2 separate regions of the Homo sapiens genome follow, and region 1 is linked to region 2. Evidence: promoter capture Hi-C in 16 types of primary human blood cells and fetal thymus (Javierre and others, 2016). All regions are on one chromosome and are shown on one strand. The core of a region is centred on a gene start or on the middle of the fragment in contact, and the rest is flanking DNA. Distances in the headings are between cores, read along the strand shown. Region 1 has its middle 14 kb from the start of OR2T10. Region 2 holds the start of OR2T4 (olfactory receptor family 2 subfamily T member 4).

Region 1 (6,616 bases), core at 456-2,955, 250 kb after region 2:
CTTTTTAACCTCTCTCTTTATTTTCCTCAGGATTTTTAAGCCTCTTTTTCTGGTCCTTCATTATTTTTAAGCTGTTTCTCTTCATTTGTTAACATATTTTTATTTTACTTTTATCTTCTATTTATTCTCTAACATCTGTCACCTCAGTATTGATTTCTGTTTTTGCTTTATACCGATTCCTTTGACCCTCATGTAGCATTTGAATTCTATTACAAAGAAATATCAGATTTCATTTCAACTTTATTTCAAGGGAACCAACTTTTCATAATTTTGGTAGATATTATGTTGTATGTTTTCTATTTTGCTTTAGCTTTCTTTTTACTTTTGATATATGATGTTGCCTAAAACGAAATATTTAAGTAAATGTATTTCCATTCCTAGCTACCTATGTGTTTTAGGCAGATATGAGTTTTGAAATGTATTTGAAACCTTTTGGATCCTTTATATATGCTACATAGCTTTCATAGGACACCAAGCGACGCAATGTTTTACAGCCTTGTCTTGTATATTCTGTCCTATCCATTGTTACATGTCTGAGACCAAATTTGGCTGTTTTTATCATTTCTCTTAAACATCAGAACCTCATCTCCATCATTTTTCTGTAAACCTTGCTTTGAATTCTTCAGTCTCTCCTATCTTTAGTTATCTAATAACACATGCAATTTAATTCAGACTGATAAAGGATATTGTCTTAAATCTTTCTGCCTCTCTTTTGTCCTTACTGTGCCCCCAGTGACCAGCATAGGAATGGGCACAAAGCAGGCACCTGACTGTGGAGTGAATAAACCAATGCCTGGCAACATTTAGAATTTATAATCGGCAAATCCACTACTTAATTATATTGAGAGGATTAATTTAAAACAATCAACTTGAAAACAGTTAAAATGGTAGCTCAGTTCATTTACTGAAAACAAAGGAAGCATTTTAAACAATTCTCTTGGTCTTCGTAACCTTTCGGGACTAGCCCCCTAATTACCTGCAAGAATAGAAGAGCCCAGGGACCTCCTGAGAAGCCCAGTTTCCTCCGTGTTCCTTATGCTTTTTCCCTTCGTGGAAAAAAGTGATTGCACCTTTCTTTCCATTTCCTAATTCTACATCATGCCTTGTATTTAGCTGGAGACTCACTCAGAGTGGGAGAGCCTGAGAGAAGAGCTGGAGACAAGCAAGGTCTGCAGGGGATTCCAGGGCAGGCCGGCCCATGACCTGGCCAGCCCTGCCATGACCTGCTTTCCCACCCAGGTAAGCTGCTTACACTTCCGAGGTGAAACTATTAGAAAATTAAGAAAAAAAAATTAGACGTGTGTAAATTTAGGAGGCACAACATTTCCCTGGAGTTGAAGGGAACTATACTAAGTTCTACAGAACTTGAGTATTTGAAGATGCTTAAATTATCATTGTGCTCTATTCAGCCACAAGGATCTTGTGCTATAAATTTATCGTAGAATTTGCTGTTAAAACACACCCACACTAAAGAAGCCACCACATTACTCTATTTGTGACTTTTGTTGCAGAAATATTACTATACATTTATTTTTCATATTTCAGCTGTGAATTTTTAAAATCACATTCAAAGGCATGAAGAGTTAGGTAGTGAATTGTTTACTAAAGTGTCATTTTAAAAGAAATTCAAAAGTTTGTTTTACAAGTTTAAACATTTCATGTATACTAATCAGGGTCAGCCTTAATGAAGCTATGGTCTACTTAGAATCGAAACCTGCATATTAAGCTATTAAATGTTACTCAACAAAGTCACTGAAAATTTCTAGTGCCATAATCTGATGAAAACAGAAAAGTTATTTCTCCTCAATAGATTGTCAATGGTTATGGTAAAAAATTAACCAGTGAAATGTGTGGTTCCTTGGCACGACTGCAACACAATTCTGGGAAAATACTACAAGTCTCAAACTTTCCATTGTGATTCACTGAACTAAGGAAGCATTACTCAGTAAATTATTATGAAAATTTAGTAAAAAGTTAGGTGAAACTAGGTCCTGTTATCACATTAATTTAAAATATCAAATCGATTAAAGGTTTACATGTGGAAAATAAAAATATAAAACAAGACACATGAATGGGTAAAGATTTAGCTAAACGGTGAGCAAAGGCAATGAAGAAAACATGGAAAGTAAAATTAGTATTTGAAAACTGAAAACAATCTCTGAATAAAACAAATTTTTTCTAATTAGGAAATTTATGGTTCACATGACGAATCAAAGGCTGAGGATCGGTAATGTGTAAGATTCTCTTGCATATTCATAAGACAGACATGGCAATTTTTAAAATGACACAAACATGTTAGTAAACAATTTGTGGAAGACTTGTACATACAAAATAAGACAATGACAAAAAGCACAAAAATGTCCATTAATTTGTTGAATAACAGAGAGGCAAAAAAATGTGTGATTATCAGTGTTGCTGTGAGTCAGTGAAAACACCAGTGCGGCCTTTTGTGGTATGCCGGGGTAGATCACTGACGGGTACAACCCGAGTATATGAACATGAAAGGGACACTGTTTAATAAAAATGTAATAACCGATACAATAAAGGAATTCCTTACACAGATATTCATTATAGTATTGTTTTAGATTAGTAAAAAATTGGAAGAAATCTACATTGGAAATAAGAAAACTCAGATTCTGTTATTAAGGTAAATTGTGAAGTTATATTCAAAACAATATTTTTAAAAAGTAAACACTGAAAATATGTACACAAGAATATTTATGCAGATGTAGAGCTATATACAGCATGATTCTAATCTATAGTATTTTAATATATCTATGTATCTATATATTAAAAATATCATTTTCTCCCACAAAAAATAAGTATGTGAGATGGATATGTTAATTATCATGACATGGTCATTCCACAATGTGTACATGTATTGAAATATCTCACTGTACCCAAATATATATACAATTGTCAATTAAAAACAATTTTCAAAATCCTATTTTGAAAATTTTTATTCTGACTTGATCATTATACAATGTATATATGTGTCAAAACATCACCCCATACCCCATAAAAATATACAATTGTTATGAGTCGATTAAAAACAAAATAAACTAAAATTTTTACAAAGAAAAAATTTTATAGTAAATGTGGTAGGATTTATTTTATACCTTTATTTCTCCTTTTAGTTCCATCTATGTCTTAAATTATGTATAGCACTCACAGATGTATTTATAGAGTGAAAAAGATGTTTTAAAAAGATAATATAGTTTTAATCATAAGAAATTATTGACATGAATTTTTTTTGTCACCACGCAGGGCCCCCTGGTTTGGGCCCAAACACAGCTGCCCCACTCTGGGCTGACCACACCTATTGGTAGCAGCTCTGCATTTCTCTGGGATGGGGCCCAAGAAACATGTGAAAGGCCCTCTTCCACAACACTGCCAGGACCCTGCTCACACTGCCTCCAGGCTGAGGGGAACATAAAGCCTGAGTCACCCCAGAGGTGTGGCCTGTAGCCCAGGAGTACCAAGCTGAGATCTACAGCCAGCACTAAAGGAGGAAGAGGAGCCCACACTTTCAGAGCACTGAGAGGGAGCAAGCCTGCAATTGTGAGAAAATAGGCCCTTGTTCAGCCCCACGGCTCCTCTATCTACCGGCCATTATGCTTAAGCACCATCTACTGGATCACAGCCCAAACTTCGACACCAAAAATACTCTAATATACCTCCCCATGAAACCAAGGCCAAGAACTCAGCTATGAGTAAAGACCCTGCACAAAGCCTTGGGCCCTCTGAAAACATCCAGAAGTCAACTGACTGTACTCAAGTTACACCACAGTGAAGGGGACATGAGCCCACACAGATGAGAAGGAACCAGTGCAAGAACTCTGGCAACTCAAAAAGCCAGAGCATCTTTTCTCCAAACAAATGCACTAGCTCCCCCAACTAGGGTTCTTAAGTAGTCTAAAATGGTTGAAATGACAGAAATAGGATTCAGAATATAGATAGGAATGAAGACCATCAAGATTCGGGAGAGAGTTGAAACCCAATCCAAAGAATCTAAGGATTACAATAAAATAATACAGGAGTGATCGATGAAATGGCCATTATAAGAACCAAACTGATCTGTGAGAGCTGGAAAACACACTACAAGAATTTCTTAATACAGTTACAAATATTAATAGCAGATAGGACTAAGCTGAAGAAAATCTCAGAGCTTGAAGATGTACTCTAAACTCAGAAAAAATTAAAAATTAAAAAGAGTGAAGAAAACATCTGAGAAATATGGAATTATGTAAAGAGACCAAATCTATGATTTATATGGTATCTCTGAAACAGAGCGGGAGAAGACAAGCAATTTAGGAGACACATTTCAGGAAATTGTCCATGAAAATTTCCCCGATGTTGTTAGAGAGGCCAATATTCAAATTGAGAGCACTGAGAGAGAACACATTTGGTCTCCCCTGTGAGCCCTTTGTCCTCTTGCTCATCACCAGGAAGGGCCCCCCTGGTTTAGGCCCATGACACAGCTGTAACACTCTGGATCAATCACACCTATTGGTAGCAGCTCTGCATTTCTCCATATTCATGTGGGGTAAAGTGTGGTTGGTCGGAGGAAGGTAGACACTCTGGCAACTCAAAAAGCCAGAGTTCTTGCACTGGTTTGTTCTCATCTGTGTGGGCTCATATCCCTTTAACTGTGGTGTAATTTGAGTACAATTAACTTTTTTCTGCAAGACACAACACAAGAAGTCCATCACTAAGATACATAGTCATCAGATTCTCGAAGATGGAAAACAAGAAAAATGTTAAAGGCAGCTAGAGAAATGGGGCAGGTCACCTACAAAGGAAACCCCATAAGCTAACAGCAGATCCTTTAGCAGAAACTCTACAAACCAGAAGAGGTTGGGGGCCTATGTTCAGCATTCCTAAAGAAAAGAATTTTCAACCACGTATTTCATATCCAGCCAAAGGAAGCTTCATAAGCAAAGGAAAAATAAGATTCTTTTCAGACAATGCTAAGGGAGTTCCTTACAACCAGACCTGCCTTACAAGAGGTCCTGAAAGGAGTGTTAAATGTGGAAAGAAAAGACCATTACCAGTCACTACCAAAACACACTTAAATACATAGACCATTGACACTATAAAGCAACCACACAAACAAGCCTGCAAACAAACAAAAAAACACCTAGGAATAGGATGACAGGATCAAATCTACACATATCAATGTTAATCTTGAATGTAAACAAGCTAACTGCCTCAAAGGGCACAGAGTGGGAAGCTGGATAAAGAAGATTCAAAGGTATGCTGTCATCAAAAGACCCATTTAACATGCAATGACACCAATAGGCTCAAAGTAAAGGGATGGAAAAAAATCTACCAAGCAAATGGAAACAAAGAAGCAAGGGTTTCGATTCTAGTTTCAGGCAAAACAGACTTCAAACCAGCAAAGGTCACAAAAGACAAAGATGGCCATAATATAATGCTACAGGTTTCCATTCAACAAGATCTAACTATCCTAGCTATCTATGCATACAACACAGAAGCACCCAGGTTCATGAAGCAAGTTCTTAAAGACCTACAAAGATACTCAGACTCCCATACAATAATAATGGGAGATTTCAGCATCCCACTGACAGTATTGAGGCAAAAAGCTAACAAAGAGACTTGAGACCTAAACTCAACACTTGGCCAAATGGACCTAATAGACATCTTCAGAACTCTGAACCCCAAAACAGAATATACATTCTTCTCACGTGTACACAGCATATACTCCAAAATTGACCAATCGGACACAAAACAATCCTCAGCAACTTAATTATACCAACCATATTCTTGGACCACAGTGCAATAAATAGAGATCAATACTAAGAAAATCACTCAAAACAAAGTTATATGAAAATTAAATATGCTAATGGTGACCTTTTTGTAGACAACAAAATTAAGGCAGAAATCAAGAAATTATTTGAAACTAATGAGAACAAAGGTAAAATATACCAGAATCTCTAGGATGTAGCTAAAGAAGTGTTGAGGAGTCTGCAACACTAAATATCCACATGAAAAAGTCAGAAAGACCTAAAATTAACAACCTAACATCACACACTTAGAACTAGAGAAACAAAAGCAAACCAACTCCAAAACTAGCAAAGAACTAATCAAAATCAGAGCTTAATGGGAGGAAATTGAGATGTGAAAAACCATACGAAAGATCAACGAATCCAGGAGTTGGTATTTGAAAAACATAAAGAGACAAATAGACCACTAGATAGACTAAGAAAAAAGAGAAGCTACAAATAAGTACAATCAGGATTGTCAAAGAGTTCATTACCAGCAACCTGACAGAAACACCAACCAAAGAAAACCCTCAGACTACTATGAACAGCTTTATGCTAGAGAATCTAGAAGAAATCAATGAATTCCTGGACACATACAACCTCTCAACATTGAATCAGGATGAAACAGAATCCCTGAACAGACCATTAAAAAGTTCTGAAATTAAATTCACAATAGAAAGCCTGCCAACTACAAAAAGTCCAGGACCAGACAGATTCATAACTAAATTCTGCAAGAGGTACAAAGAAGAGCTCATATCATTCCTACAGAAAGTATTCCAAATAATTGAGGAGAGACCCCTCCCTAACTTATTCTATAAGGCCAGCATCAT
Region 2 (7,310 bases), core at 608-3,107:
AATTCTTCCTGAAATATGACTGTATGATAACCACTGCTAAAGTCTTCCCTGAAAAAGGACCCTATATTTTCTTCCTATTGATAAATACTAAAATTTAACAACATGTCAGAAATCGAAAAGTTGCAAAGTTTTAATCTTCTTAAGAGAAAATGTAGGAGTTATCAGTGATTCTCTTCAGAAAGGTTAAATGTATTTTGCTTCTATTAGCCTTGTTAATGTAGCTCATAGCTATTCTAATCTGAAGTTGTACTTTAAATCATGTTTATATGTTTTTTCCTGAATAGACTGACTGTGACCTCCTCAAGCTTAATCAAATATAATTTGTCTTTGATTCCTGCACTAGCTAACACAGAGTCAGGCTGTGAGTAGCAAGATAGAGGAAGGAATTTAATTGAAGTGAGAGACATCTTAGTGTTTTATTTTCTTTTCTGCCTCACAGTTTCCGTGAAAAAATTCACTGTAGCAGGCAATAAAGCAGATATTTGCAAAAACACCAAAAGCCTTACCTGGTAAATAGCAGGGAGTTTCTAAATCCCAGTTATGCCCCCCTGAGATTTAATGCGAATGACAGGAGCTTTAAGGAGTTAAGCTTGGAGAAGCATGCACTAGTCACAAAGAAGGTGGATTCTGCATAAATCTCTGCTCAACATGAAAATAAGAGACATACCTTACATTAATATATGCATTTCTATTTGTAAATATGCATATACAATGTATTCTTATATTTGTAAATCTGCACATATATAAAAATGCATATCTATAAATTTATATAAAATAAATGTAAACTGTATACATACAAGTTGTCTGGGACTAGAGAAATTATCAAATCCAAATTCTTACAAGTCTGACTAAATGATAAAATCAGCAAACTGAAGTAATGAAGCTCATATCATAAGATGATTATAGTAATACAGTCTGCAGAATAATTTGTGTAGATATTAACTCTTTGACAGTGTATGTATTTGTTCATTTGTAACTGGTAATATTCTAAGCACTTTCATTACTTTTCTGCATTTAATCTTCATCAACCCTGAGGTCAAACCTTTTCTTACCATCTATTTTTATGTGCAGTAAACAGAGGAATAGCAGGTAGAGGGGAAGCTGGGTCCACCCTGCAGTCCAGCCACGGTCCCTGGGCTCCTCACCCCATGCGACTCTGGTTTCTGAGGAGTCTGGTGTGTAGGAGGACCCTGGCTTGCTCATGGGGATGTGTGGGGTTTTGCTCCACGAAACCACAGAGCCTCACAGCATTGTCCAATACTGTGGGTAGAAGGGTGCAAATGTTTGGTATGGATTTTCCACAAGTGATATTTTAGTCATGTTCTAAATCATTCCTATATGGAATACACTTTTGGGAGTTTTTAAGATTCCAGATGGATCCTTAAACCAGAGAATGTAATTCACTTTAGACTTCTCTAAACAACTCTAAAAACAGGGGGACAAAATTCTCCTTTGTTTTCAATAATTCACTATTCATGTCTGCATAAGGCAGTGACACTGCCAGTTTCCAGGACTTGTTTATAACAGACACTCTCATCGGGAAATCTCATGACTCAGAACTGTGGCAACTTCACTACAAATCACCCTTTTGATCCACAGTTGTGAATTCTTAGTTCCTGGTAAATTTTTTGAATTGCAGATAATTTATAACACCCAAATCTACAGGCCCATGGGCCTTTCTTTGGTTAGAACACACACACACACACACAATTTGTTTCAGAGGCTCAAATTACTTTAACCCCAAGCTTTCCTTTGTGGCCTAGGTGAAACCTCATGGACAACATCACCTGGATGGCCAGCCACACTGGATGGTCGGATTTCATCCTGATGGGACTCTTCAGACAATCCAAACATCCAATGGCCAATATCACCTGGATGGCCAACCACACTGGATGGTCGGATTTCATCCTGTTGGGACTCTTCAGACAATCCAAACATCCAGCACTACTTTGTGTGGTCATTTTTGTGGTTTTCCTGATGGCGTTGTCTGGAAATGCTGTCCTGATCCTTCTGATACACTGTGACGCCCACCTCCACACCCCCATGTACTTTTTCATCAGTCAATTGTCTCTCATGGACATGGCGTACATTTCTGTCACTGTGCCCAAGATGCTCCTGGACCAGGTCATGGGTGTGAATAAGATCTCAGCCCCTGAGTGTGGGATGCAGATGTTCTTCTACGTGACACTAGCAGGTTCAGAATTTTTCCTTCTAGCCACCATGGCCTATGACCGCTACGTGGCCATCTGCCATCCTCTCCGTTACCCTGTCCTCATGAACCATAGGGTGTGTCTCTTCCTGTCATCAGGCTGCTGGTTCCTGGGCTCAGTGGATGGCTTCACATTCACTCCCATCACCATGACCTTCCCCTTCCGTGGATCCCGGGAGATTCATCATTTCTTCTGTGAAGTTCCTGCTGTATTGAATCTCTCCTGCTCAGACACCTCACTCTATGAGATTTTCATGTACTTGTGCTGTGTCCTCATGCTCCTCATCCCTGTGGTGATCATTTCAAGCTCCTATTTACTCATCCTCCTCACCATCCACGGGATGAACTCAGCAGAGGGCCGGAAAAAGGCCTTTGCCACCTGCTCCTCCCACCTGACTGTGGTCATCCTCTTCTATGGGGCTGCCATCTACACCTACATGCTCCCCAGCTCCTACCACACCCCTGAGAAGGACATGATGGTATCTGTCTTCTATACCATCCTCACTCCAGTGGTGAACCCTTTAATCTATAGTCTTAGGAATAAGGATGTCATGGGGGCTCTGAAGAAAATGTTAACAGTGGAACCTGCCTTTCAAAAAGCTATGGAGTAGACCATTTTGAGAGTAATTTACTTTTCCTTCTCTCTGCACTTCACATATGAGAATGTTATACCAGTGTTATTTCCCAGACTCCAAGACTGCCATGGTGTTTGATCTCATTTTCACACCTCTTTTAGAAATCGCTTTCCTGTACTAGAAACTTTTCAATTTACACTCCGTCTCACTTCAAAATGCATTATTCAGTCATATTATATTGATGTTACAGTTACTGAAGTTCATAACTACTTTCTAATTCTATAGGATATTTTCATATTCTGGGAATACATAATGATACTACTTAGAGGATAAAGGTTATAAGGCATAAAATTGAGAGAGAGGGAGAAATGAGGAAGAAAAAGGGTTCATATAGATGTTCTTTGTACTACTTTTATTTATGCTAATTTTCTGTAAAATTGAAATTAATTTTAAATAAATAATTAAAATATGTCCCCTCCCTCCCACCTTTTTTGAGCAGTACACATGATATAATATCTTAGAAAACTTGCTGATTGCAATGTAGTTATTCACTGCTGAGACAATCCAGCCATTTGTCCACCCTTATTGGAGGCTGTCTTGGCCCACATGGTTGGTTCCTGAAAGATTAAGGTCTGTTATTGAGGTTAACAGTCTTCATCAAGTGCTGGGTTTTGAATCCCGAATTCCGTTAAGAGACTGTGGAAAACATATTAGCCTGGGGTGAAAAGAAGCTTTAGAGAAGATTTCCAGCACAAAGTGACATCTGAGCTGAGTTTTGAAGTATGTAATTTATTAGACAAATAAGAAGAGGTAGAGTATCAAATATCCAATTGTTCATTTATCCAGTAAATATTTGTTATGCTATATTAAATCTAAAATATTCACTAAAGAAAATTCAAAGGTGAATACTACATACTGCTTTCCCCAAGAAATTTGAACTAGTAATTCTGTGTGCAAATAGGTGCTATAAAGTGTATGAAATGCTTTGATGCACATGTGGAAAGGGTATAGCTCATTCTGGCACCTCGCTTCTTCCTGTGCTGTGCACATTCAATCAAGCAGAAGATGCTGAGTGCAGCCCCAGGAGCTCAGTGTTAAAGGTGCCTAGCTGTTCCCCTCAGATAACTACACATGGCTGGGGAAGGGGGAGGGACTTTGTCAGGGATGTGATTATGCCTGGGAAAAGGCACAGCAAGAGCAAAGGTCAGACAATTGACCAAGCAGGAGTGGCAAATATTCTAATCGTGCCTTCTTTCCTGTTTTATTTTGTGGAATAATTCCTTGCTTTCTGTGACCCAGATGTTTACAAACAGTAGAAAATGATCAGTCTTGCATTTCAGAAATATTACTTTGGTGACAATAGATTGGAGAAGTGCAAACCTGGTGGCAGGCAGACCAGGTGAGTGAGGATGGTGAAATGCACGAACTCAGTGGAACGATGTGTACCTTACCACCAGGAGGGACTTAGGGAGAGGAAATGTTTGGGGTATGCAGGGATGTGAGACTTTGTCAAACCAATTGGATTATAATTACAGACCTAGTTGCAGGTGTATCATTTTCCAATTGCCTGTGTCCAACTTGTGAAAAATCAAGTGGCTTCAGATTTACAGATTCTGCTTTCCTCTTGACAATATGATCCTAAACATGTAAAACTTAAAATCTCCACAAAAGCTCTGTTAGAACAATTGAAAGCCTTCACATAAAGTTGCAGAAATCAAAATCAACATACATCAATAATTTTTCTATGCACTAACATCAAACTACCTGAAAAAGAAATTTAAAAACAATTTTATTTATAATAGTGTCAAATCAAACAAACAAAAACTTTGGGATAAATTTAACCAAAAGGGTTAAATATCTACACTGAAAAACATAAAACATTGATGTAGGAAATTAAAGAAGACACCAATAAATGAGAACTATCCCATATTCATGGATTGGAAGAATTAATATGTTAAATTTTTCATATTACCCAAAGGGGTCTATACATTTAATGACATTCTTGTCACATTTCAATGTCATTTTTCACAGAACTGGAGAAAAAAATGATTTATATGAACAGTAAGAACAAAAGGGGAGCATCACACTACTTTTTTTCTAAATATATTACAAAGCTATGACACTCAAAACAGCATGGTACACGCATTACAAAAGGCACATTGACCAGTGGAACAGGATTTAGAGCCGAGAAATAAACCCACACATTTATAGTCAATTGATTTTTGACAAATGTGCCAAAAACACACCTGAGGAAAGGACTGTTCCTTCAACAAATGATACTGGAAAAATTAGATATCCACATGCAAAAGAACAAAATTGAACCCTTTTCTCACACCATATACAAAAATCAATTCAAAATGAATTAAACTTGGATATAAGACCCGAAACTGTAAAGCTACTAGAAGAAAATATAGGGAAAAGCTCTGTGACATTGGTTTGGGCAATGTTTTTCTGGATATAAACTCAAACTCCCATGGAACAAAAGCACAAATAAACAAATCAGATTATGCAAAACTAAAAAGGTTCTGCACAGTAAAGGAAACAATCAATAGAGTGAAGGGACAACCCACAGAATTAGATAAAGTATTTGTAAACTATATTATCTGATAAGGGATTAATAGAAAAAATATATCAGGAACTCAGAAACCTCAATAGTAAGAAAATAAATAACACAATTTAAAAATGGGCATAAGACCTGAATAGACATTTCTGGAAAGAAGACAGACAGATGGCCAACAGGTATATGAAAAATAATGCTTATTATCACTAGTCATCAGGGAAACACAAAACAAAACCACAATGAGATATCACTTCACTCTTGTTAGAATGGCTATTATCAAAAAGACAAAAGATAACAAGTGTTGGTGAGGACATGGAGACAACTTCCCTCCCTCCCACCTCCAACTTTGAGGGTACAGTGGGCTAAACTGAAGAATGCATGAGCTGGGGGAGGCAGAGGATGCTGGGTCCTGTCTCCCCACTCTCGGGGCCGACTCCTTGACCTGATACAGGCAGAACAGGTGAGGCCCCGAGGCTTTACCTTGACTGAGAGCTCTAGCTGTGAGTAGGATCTAGGCATGTTAGTAACGACTGATTCTGGACTGAATGTGCTGGGAGGTCATTTGAAAGTCTAGGAAGGTTGAAAAAACCTCATAGCTTGAACAGGCATTTGAATGAAACCTCAAAGTTCTTTTGTGCTTGTAACTTGAAGACATTTGCTCTTTGGAAATAGCATACACATATACAGACCATCTATATGGTATACACAGATGACAAAGGTTTGTGCTCTCCATAGTTTCTTTTCTTCTTTATTTGATGGATTTATTCTTTCTTGCACACCTGTAATTATATTTCTCTTGACACCTTGCTGTATATCAACTTCTTGAGTTACACTCCTTGTCAATAGTTGAAAAGTTTCTGTCTTTCAGCTTCCAACAAATTTGCTGACGAGTCAGTTGCTGCTCAGATTTTTTAAAAATCAATTTTATATAAGTAGTTCTTTCTATCTGGTGACTGCAAAATGTTAACTTGCATTTACTCTGAAAATAATTCATGTACATATTTTAACTTACTGTTACAATTGCTAACTGTTGTTAATGTATAATTTCTATAAATGTATATCTATTGCGTTGAATATCAGAGTATTAATTTAAAAGTGGTACTTTTTACATATATAACTAGGAGTGGAATAGCAGGGTAATATAATAATTCTATACTTTGTGTTTTGAAAAGCTGTCAAACTGTTTTCAACTATGGCTGAAACATTTTGCATTTCCACCAGCAATGCATGAGTCTTAATTTCTCCATATTCTCACCAACACTTATTACTGCTTAATGAGTAAGGGGTTTTACAGCTTGGGATCGTGGAAATGTTTTGGAACTAGAGGTTGTTGTTGCCCAATATTGTGAATGTATAAGATACCACTGAATTGTTCACTTTAAAATGGTTAATTACATTGCATGAAGTTCACTTGAATAAATTATTTTTAAGTGGCGCTGTTTGTTTGGAAGACTATGAGAGAAATTTATTTTCACATAGGGTTATCCCATGGAACTAGGCAAAATCTTGAGAAATAGTATTTCCAAATAATTCACAATAATTTTTCAACTTATTCCAAGAAGACAACTTCTCTAAAAACATGTAACATAATGGGCCTGGTCAGTTCTTGGTTGATGCTTTGACTCTTTCAGTGTTTCTTATTTTAAAACATGATTTTAAGTTTCAGTTTTGGCTGGGAGAAAATACCCTGTCTAAAGCTGTATTTCAGCCTCTTGCTTTCAGATTTACCAAATTGTCTTTGTTTGACTTAAAAAAAATTTTTAGTTGTCTGTTTCCAACATATTTGCATTGTTGATTTAAAAAAACTTTGAAAAGCATGTGTGTTCATTTGAGAATAATTTTAGCTCATTTTTGATAGGGGAAGTGTATAATTTATTTTATTAGTTCTAAGTCCTCCTTATTTCTAAATTTTATTTTTATGAAATAACATTTTAAATGTGCTTCAAAATATTTCCACAGGGCAGTG

Evidence for each region. The method cuts DNA at HindIII sites, captures the fragments that hold promoters and counts their contacts. A CHiCAGO score of 5 or more calls a contact.
Region 1: a contact is called between a fragment that was not itself captured here and the fragment with the promoter of OR2T4 in region 2, in 4 of 17 cell types (naive B cells, naive CD4 T cells, non-activated CD4 T cells and 1 more). The highest score is 5.8, in naive B cells.

The regions. Positions count from the first base shown.
Region 1 is chr1:248,608,628-248,615,243 of GRCh38, forward strand. No RefSeq gene overlaps it. Among named protein-coding and RNA genes, the nearest start is that of OR2T10, 14 kb to the left of the region's middle. The HindIII fragment of the contact is 6,444 bases long and covers 1-4,927 here.
Region 2 is chr1:248,359,808-248,367,117 of GRCh38, forward strand. OR2T4 (olfactory receptor family 2 subfamily T member 4) reads left to right here and starts at 1,858. Exons shown (of 1, transcript NM_001004696.2): 1 at 1,858-2,820. The coding sequence starts at 1,858. The coding sequence ends at 2,820. The HindIII fragment of the contact is 1,770 bases long and covers 1,744-3,513 here.